Regions from separate parts of the Homo sapiens genome. Here region 2 is linked to region 1. Evidence: promoter capture Hi-C in human tissues and cell types (Jung and others, 2019). All regions are on one chromosome and are shown on one strand. Each heading gives the region's core, a stretch centred on a gene start or on the middle of the fragment in contact. The rest is flanking DNA. Distances are from core to core; before and after follow the strand shown.

What was found. Contacts are between HindIII fragments. The study calls those that stand out against the background at their distance.
Region 2: a contact is called between a fragment that was not itself captured here and the fragment with the promoter of PPP2R5D in region 1, in 1 of the 25 tissues and cell types used here (hippocampus).

Annotation. Positions count from the first base shown.
Region 1 is chr6:42,982,421-42,986,544 of GRCh38, forward strand. It overlaps PPP2R5D (protein phosphatase 2 regulatory subunit B'delta), which reads left to right and starts at 2,150. Exons shown (of 16, transcript NM_006245.4): 1 at 2,150-2,284. The coding sequence starts at 2,258. It overlaps LOC124900215 (a long non-coding RNA gene), which reads right to left and starts at 1,894. Exons shown (of 2, transcript XR_007059580.1): 1 at 1,412-1,894. RefSeq lists an enhancer at 1,929-2,048 and silencers at 2,199-2,268, 2,359-2,508. The HindIII fragment of the contact is 19,136 bases long and covers 592-4,124 here.
Region 2 is chr6:41,937,324-41,941,447 of GRCh38, forward strand. It overlaps CCND3 (cyclin D3), which reads right to left. Exons shown (of 5, transcript NM_001760.5): 2 at 3,047-3,262; 3 at 1-71. Among named protein-coding and RNA genes, the nearest start is that of CCND3, 2.4 kb to the right of the region's middle. RefSeq lists enhancers at 956-1,771, 1,772-2,587, 2,168-2,462, 3,544-3,673, 3,716-4,124. The HindIII fragment of the contact is 4,830 bases long and covers 1-4,124 here.

The DNA.
Region 1 (4,124 bases), core at 900-3,399:
TCCGCCCTCCTCAGTCTCCCAAAGTGCTGGGATTACAGGCGTGAGCCACTGCGCCTGACCTTTTTTTTTTTTAAGACTAAATATTTTATTTTATATAGAATTTTAAAAATTTATTTTTTGTACATGAATAAGTTCTTTAGTGGTGATTTATGAGATTTTGATGCAGCCATCACCCAAGCAGTGTATACTGTACCCAATGTGTAGTATTTTTTTTTTTTTTTGAGACGGAGTCTTGCTCTGTCGCCCAGGCTGGAGTGCAGTGGCATGATCTAGGCTCACTGCAACCTCTGCCTCCCGGGTTCACGCCATTCTCCTGCCTCAGCCTCCCGGGTAGCTGGGACTACAGGCGCCTGCCACCACGCCCGGCTATTTTTTTGTATTATTTTAGTAGAGACGGGGTTTCATCGTGTTATCCAGGATGGTCTCGATCTCCTGACCTCGTGATCCGCCCGCCTCGGCCTCCTAAAGTGCTGGGATTACGGGCGTGAGCCACCGCGCCCGGCCTCCATTGTATCATTCTCATGCCTTTGCATCACAGGTTTCTTCTTTTTTTTTTGTAGACGGAGTCTTGCTCTGTCGCCCAGGCTGGAGCGCAGTGGCATGATCTCGGCTCACTGCAACCTCCACCTACCGGGGTCAAGTAATTCTCCTGCCTCAGCCTCCTACCGGGTTCAAGTGATTCTCCTGCTTCAGTCTCCCGAGTAGCTGGGACTACAGGCGCGCGCCACCACGCCCCGCTAATTTTTGTATTTTTCATAGAGGCATGGTTTCACCATGTTGGCCGGGATGGCCTCGATCTCTTGACTCGTGATCCGCCCACCTCGGCCTCCCAAAGTGCTGGGATTACAGGCGTGAGCCACCGCACCCTGTCTAATTTTTGTATTTTTAGTAGAAATGGGGTTTCACCACTATGGTCAGGCTGGTCTCAAACTCCTGACCTCGTGATCTGCCCACTTTGGTCTCCCAAAGTGTTGGGACTACAGGCGTGAGCCACCGAGCCTGGCCACAGGTTTATTCTTTTTGTCGTCATTGTTGCTGTTTTGAGACAGAGTCTTGCTCTGTCGCCCAGGCTGGAGTGCAGTGGTGTGATCTCGGCTCACTGCAACCTCCGTCTCCCGGGTTCAAGTGATTCTCCTGCCTCAGCCTCCCGAGTAGCTGGGATTACAGGCGTGCACCACCACACCCAGCTAATTTTTGTATTTTTAATAGAGACGGGGTTTCGCCATGTTGGCCAGGCTGGTCTCGAACCTCTGACCTCAGGTGATCCTCCTGCCTCAGCCTCCCAAAGTGTTGGGATTACAGGCGTGAGACACCGTGCCTGCCTGGTTTACATTCTCTCTTAATCCTTTGTTTATACACATCTGTGATTCACCAGACTGCGAACTCTTTGTGGGCATAAACTGAGTCTTACCCATTAGAACACGGACTTGAGCAGGGTGGCAAGTAAGGGATGGATTTCCTGAGACAGTCAACAATGAAGTTGCTTTTCCACTGCGTTCCCAACTGCTCAAATCTAGCTGGTTCCCCAATCCCAGTACACTTGCAGTAGCAACGGGGACCCTCTTCCTAAAGTTGCACCAAGCCAGGGATTCTCCACTCATTTCGCCCAGGTCCTAGCCCTGCCAGGCTTCCCCTTTGCTCCTCTGCAACCCCTGTCTAGGGAGGCGGGTGTCTTGGAAGGTCCTTGGGAGCTCCCTCCATCAATTTTGCATCTGCAATTAGGGCTACTTTACCCCAGTGAAGAAAGGTGCCCTCCGTATTAGGGCTTCCTTCCTCCAATTCCGACTGGACAGGGTAGCAGAGCGGGCAAAGTGTGAGAGCCTTTAGAAGGAAAGAGCAGGGCTCCAAGCGCCGCGAAGAATGGCCGAGGCCGACGCACAGCAGACGCTGGAGTGCAGCCCTCCTAGCCAAGCTTGGGTTTCCCCTTATCCCCGCCTCCTTCTCTAAGCTCGACCCACTTTAGGGCGGGACCACCCACTTCAGCCAATTCTGGAAGCCGAACCCTGGCGGTTTGTACTATTTCTTTCCAATAAGAAAAAAAGGAAGCAGCTTGGCTCCAATGACCAATCCGAGGAGGCGGCGCCTGGTTGTCAGGCAGTTTTGTAGGAGTTCGGGCCAATTGGAGGCGCAGGCACCGCTCGACCCGGGCGCAGCGCGCAGGCGGTGGCGAAGAGACGCCGAGCGGGCCGAGTGCGGCCGAGCAAAGCCGGAGCCGGAGCGGGGCCGCAGGAGACGGGCCGGGTCCGGACGGGCCGAGATGCCCTATAAACTGAAAAAGGAGAAGGTGAGCGTGGCCCTTTTTCCCCCACCGCCGCCTTGGAGCCTGCGCGGAGCTCTGGGAGGGGCCGGAGCCAGGCCCGGGACAGCCCCAGACTGACCCTCCCGTCCAGCCCCCGCAGGACTCCTGGGGCCAGCCCTCCGCCCCCGCGGCTGGCAGCACCCCCAGCTTGTGCCGCAGCTAGGACAGCTCCCCCACCTTGCCCCGGAGAGACTCCCCCCACATACACCTCCCTCCCTTCTTCCCTTCTCTTACCCCCGGCCCAGGGTAACCTCCTTCTTCCAGATCTGCCCCATTCCCAGGTCACTGTCCTGCTTTTTCTGTCCCCCCCATCACCCCTGGCCCCGATCCCCCTTCGGTTTGGGCAGCCCCTCATCTGAAACTGCACCTTCCTCCAGAATTGCCCCCTCGCCCCGCCCTGAGCAGCCCCTTGTCTCCTCTTCCTACCCGCCTGGGACAGCCGCCCCGCAGTCCCCTACGGCCCCTTCTCTTTCCATGCCAAGCCCCTGACCTAGAACAGCGCTGCTTTCTCTCTCCTCCACCCAAATCTGGCCTAGGCCCCTCCCTCTAGTTCTTCCTTCACACACAAACTTGTAAGCAGGACTGAGCCCTTCTGTTGATGGAACCTCACAACGTTGGTGCTGGAAGGGACCTCTGAGCGCATGCAGTGCAATCCCTAATGGTACAGATGAGGAGACTGAGGCCCCGACAGGGCAAGGGACTTGTCCAAGGTCACACAGCCTGCTGGAGGCCCAGCTGCAATATCAGGTCTCCTGACTTAAAGGCCTCTTTTGTATCAAAGCCCTCCTAACTGTCACCCAAGTGCATCCTAGACCAGTCACCTTTCCTAATCTGAGTAGGCTCCTCACCCTTATTCTTAATCCTAGGATAACCTTTGCATTTTTCCTTTTTTTTTTTCTTTTCGCACCAGTGCTGGATTTCTGCCTTTCCTAAGCTACACCATCTTCAAATTGGGAATTTGTCCTCACTGTCAGATTATTGTTCCTTCTTAGCCTGCAGGCCAGCCACCCCTGAACACCCATGTCTTTATCATGATGTCCTGACACAGGCCATTTCTTTTTTTTTTTTTTTTTTTGAGATGGAATTTTGCTCTTGTTGCCCAGGCTGGAGTGCAATGGCGCGATCTCGGCTCACCACAACCTCTGCCTTCTAGCTTCAAGCGATTCTCCTGCCTCAGCCTCCCAAGTAGCTGGAATTACAGGCATGCGCCACCACATCCGGCTAATTTTGTATTTTTAGTAGAGACGGGGTTTCTCCATGTTGATCAGGCTGGTCTTGAACTCCTGACCTCAGGTGATCTGACCCCCTCGGCCTCCCAAAGTGCTGGGATTACAGGTGTGAGCCACCGTGCCTGGCCCACAGGCCAGTTCTTAATGTTGCCTTCTTTCACCTTCCTCATCTACCTCGGTGCTGCCTTCCCCTGCTCCTCATCCGTGCCTTTTTCTACCCTCTGTTTCCTGCTGTTGCTGAGGTCTGACTCAGAGGTGTGGTTCCTTTGAGGTACAGACTCACACATAGGATGCTAGGATACCAGTTCCAGCCTCCCCCAGCTTCTCCTCTCCTGGGGCTGGCCCTTTTTGGTGGGGGTTGGCTCTGGCCTGGTGTTCTGGCCACCTGCTCGATGACCCCAGAGGTATATTGCTTTCATTTGCCCTCTGATTGGCTGGGTTACTGGGCTGCCATCTCTGACCTTTTCAATCAAACTTTTTCTCCTGGGGCTGTTCTGTATTTGCCAGGCAGCTCTGATTCTGAGTTGTCCCCTTAACCTTTCAGGGCCTGAGGTTCTAAGTACAGGGTTGGTGATGGTGTACTAGATAGTGAGCCT
Region 2 (4,124 bases), core at 859-3,358, 1.0 Mb before region 1:
GCCAGGAAATCATGTGCAATCACAGCAGCCAGGTCCCACTTGAGCTTCCCTAGGACCAGCACCTCCCAGTCCTGAAAAAGCGGGGAAAGGGTGGGGTCAGTGGCTGGAGAAGTGAAGAGGAGGGAGCAAAGCAGAAGTCTCAAAGTCTCAGGCAGGGAAGCCCATCAAACTTTTAAAGCCCAAGACCCCAGTTCTGTTTCTGATTTTAAGGCCGGGCACCATGGAGTTCAAGGCAGGGAAGAGGAGGAGGCATGTGCTTTGAGCACTTACTGATCATTTACTAGGTGCCAGGACAACATGCTTTACATGGATTATCCCTTTTAATCCTGTCTGGTTATGTTTAAGGGGCCAATAATCCAGGCCTTCTCCTGACTTCATTCAGGGCTCTGAGGATTTCTCCAGCCAGGGCTGAAAGACGGAAGCAGCAGATACCACAGCATCACCATGAACTGGGCTCTCTTCTGGGATGAAGCAGAAAGACTCTCTCAACCCCAAGGATTTGTGAAAGGGGAGATCACCACTAGCTTCCCCTGCAACTCTGCATCCCAGCCAAGTCCACACTTCTTGAATCAACAGAAGGGAGTATGACTCCTCCAATGACAGCCACAGAGCCTTTTCTCAGGTTCCTCAAAGGGGAGATTGCCCAACCCAAGCCACATCCCCTTGGTAGGATATCAGGGATGGGTCCTGAGGTATAGCACCCCACCCCACCCCCTTTAGCTGGAACCCGTAGTGCCCCATGCCACTTGACTTTCAGGAGGATAGGTAGAGGCCAAGCCAGACAGGATGGCTCCAAATGATTCCAGAGGGATCAAGCCCTATCCTCACCTACCCAAGCCTACCTGCCAGTACTAGGTCTCGGGAGAAGGCTGGGAGCTCCACCCCAGTCCACTCGTCATGGGTTCCCAGACCTGGCCCCATTTCTGAGTTGCACACATGAGGATTTCTTCATTGTTTTATCTCAGGAAGGAACTTGTGGGTTTGACTCCTTATTGAGGCAGAAATGGCAACCCCACCCAACCTCTTCCAGGCCCCAGCCACAGCTGTCTCTCTCTTGGCCCCAGCTTAGGTGTCAGCCTCTCAAATCAACCCCTACCCTCACAGAGCCCCAGAGAAAATAGCCTGGCCTGGAGCCAGAAGTGAGACAGATAAATTACAACGCTACCCCTAGTGCATGTCCCAGGAGCCAACTCCTAACTCAGCAGTAAACAGAAGGGACTCAGCTTCTAAGGAAGCATCTGGAAGGCAACTGGGAGTGGGACTCTCCCTATGGGGAGGCAAGGGGTTGTGTTTGAGGGAAAGTGGCCACCTTTCCCCATATCCAGGCAACCAGAGAATCCCAGTGTTAACTGGTGGAGAACACACCCCTGGGAGTGCTTAGCTTCAGTAGGTGGCAGCGGCCATCACATTCCTGACTTTTAAGGCAACCTGGTCTAGCTAGAAGACCCAGGTTCTACACTCATCTGCTCAGTGCGATGCTGAGGCAGGACCTTGCCCTCCTTCCTTGGGCCTCAGCCTCCTCTGCTGCACACGGATTTGGACCAACTGGAGTTCTCAGAGGTCCCTTCCAACCTTGACCTTCTAGGAAGTCTTTTGGGCACTCCACCCCCAGCTCAGGCAGAGGGAAGAGTACTTTTTGCCTGTACTGAAAAACCCTCATACGTGGGCACACAAACCACCTCCATCTTTTCACAAAAAGGAAGTTCCCCTTCTACCTTCCAGCCCCAACCCCTCCAAAAACATCTTGCTCTCTGGCCCTGGAAACTAGCTCCACCTTCAGACTTGCCAAAAACTACCAGATTCATCACAAAGAGCTGTGGCGCCTCCTGGATTCCCAACTCTGGCCTCCTACTCCCATCTCTGAGCTACTTGGCAGGAAGAGGAATCCTGTTCCTCGACTCACAGCAGTCGGGGGCCCCAGTACCCTGGCTTCCCTGCCAGCCAATCACAGCAGCCTGCTTGCTGCCCTCCTCCCTGGGAGATGGGGCCCAGAGACTCCTCTCAGGGTCAGCAGAAGACTTGGCCCGCCACAGAGCAAGGTGGAGGAAGGTGCCAGCTCACCCACCCTCTCCCCCAGCCTCCCTAGGAGACAATCTGCATGTCCTAAATAACCTCTTCCAGATCCAGCAGCTCCCCCGCCTCCTCCCCAGGCTCCTTCTGAGGCGGGACAGAACCGGTGACTTTCCTGCCCGGCCTGAGCCCAGCCCAAGTTTCCAGCAAGAGGCCCAGGGAGCCACTTCCCAAACCACAGGAGTGACAGCAGCTCCCCACAGGGTTATGAAAGACCTTGGTCAGAGAGGGCGGGCCAGGGGAGGGGGCACCATTATCACATCGGAAGCAGATGCAGCTCACCTCCCTGTCTGTCCCTCAGCTTGGGCCTTGGGCTAAGGGGGGAAGAGGGAGCTGTTTCCACCAGGCCCAAAGCAGCTGCTCCAGTTCCTCAGAATGAGGACGAGGAAGGATTAGGAAGAAGCTGTTTCTTCCGGGATATAAGAGGAAGCAAAGAAGGTGGGATGAAATACATCAGCCCTTCCTTAAAGCAATCAGGGCCTGGCTTTAATTGGCTCTGGGAGGCTTTTCTATCACAAAGTCCACATGAGGATAAAGACTCAACCAAGGCAAAACCCCCTCCCCCACATGAAGCACATTCCACTCCCCTACTCCAGTGGGGGTGTGCAGGCATGCCCTTCTGCTGCCAATAAATAACTCATGGTGGCTGCGTAAACCCAGAGGCAAAGTACTAGTGAGTGTAGACATGCAATTTGACTTGTTGCTATCTGGGGGAAAGACCAGGAAGGAGTGGCATCCCCTGGAGGTCAGGAGGAGGGGGTTTAATGCCTGCCTGCAGCTCAAGCCTGGGCGGGAGTGATACTAACCATCACACCACAATGCCCCATCGTTTGTTCCACCCCAATTCCTTTCCCAAAGGTCCTGATCCCCTTGCTTCCTCTCCAGGGGGCAGAAAGCCTCTGATATCTCAAGCTTTCCTTTTCCTGGAAAGTGGGGAGACAATACGTGTCGGGGGTGGGGGGAGTTACACACGCACCCGCAACTGGCGGGGAGAGACAGCGTGGTCGGTGTAGATGCACAGTTTTTCGATGGTCAGGGGCGTGGTCTCGCGCAGCTTGGAGGCCAGCAGCATGCAGACCGCACCCAGGAGCTGCAACTGCGCCTTTCGGGTGGGGACGCAAGACAGGTAGCGATCCAGGTAGTTCATGGCCAGGGGGAAGACTTCCTCCTCACAGCGCTGCTCCTCACATACCTGGGGGAGGGCGCACAGTCACTGCTGGGTCTGGAGCGTGGGGAACACAGCAGCGGGGGGGTGGGAGCGCTGAAGTGAGGTGGGATAGGGAGCAAAAACGGCAGAGAGGGTAAGCTACTTAGAGAGACAAGGACCAATAAAGGAGGAGGATGCGCCCTCCCCAAGGTGACGCCCCCCACTTCCTCTGCGCGGCCTCCTCCCCTCTCCCCTTGACGGGGGAGTGGTAAAGCCAAGGAGCCCTTGCTCACGGAGGATTCCAAACGGAGACTCCCCTCCCCCACAGCGAGGGGAAGTGGGACGCAAGGGTCACCCATGGTAGCCAGAGAGCTGGGACCTCACCCCCATCACCGCCACCACTGCACACACCCGAGGGGAAGGGAGGAGGCTCCTGCCGCTGCCTCCTGCACTTTTCATTTCCCTGTCGGCCGGAACAGGGCGCGCGCCACCCCCATCGCCTTCCCCGCCAGAACCCCGCGAAAGACACAGGAACCGGCTCCCGGGCGGGGGCGGCCGAGCCCAGGGTTTTCCAGGCGCGCTCTCCGGAGAAGGCCGGGAGGCGGAGGGAAGCGGGAGACGCTGTGAGAAGCCGAAGGGGAGAGAGTGTCCTTGGTCCCGTTTGCTCGGCCCGAAGAGAGGCACAGTTAGGGTGCCAAGTGACTGGCAGTCACTGTCGGGAGGAGCCGATTAGGGCTCGGGAAAGCAAGGGAGGCAGCTGGCGTGGGTGCCCTAGTGAAAGGCCAGGCCCCGGGAGTCTTAGCCTCGGAGCATCCTGCAGATTGCTGTGGGGACCGGGATGTCCCGACAGGGCGGCCCCGGTGTGTCCAGACCCGGGAGCGGTGGGGGAGGGGGACGCGTCCGGGCG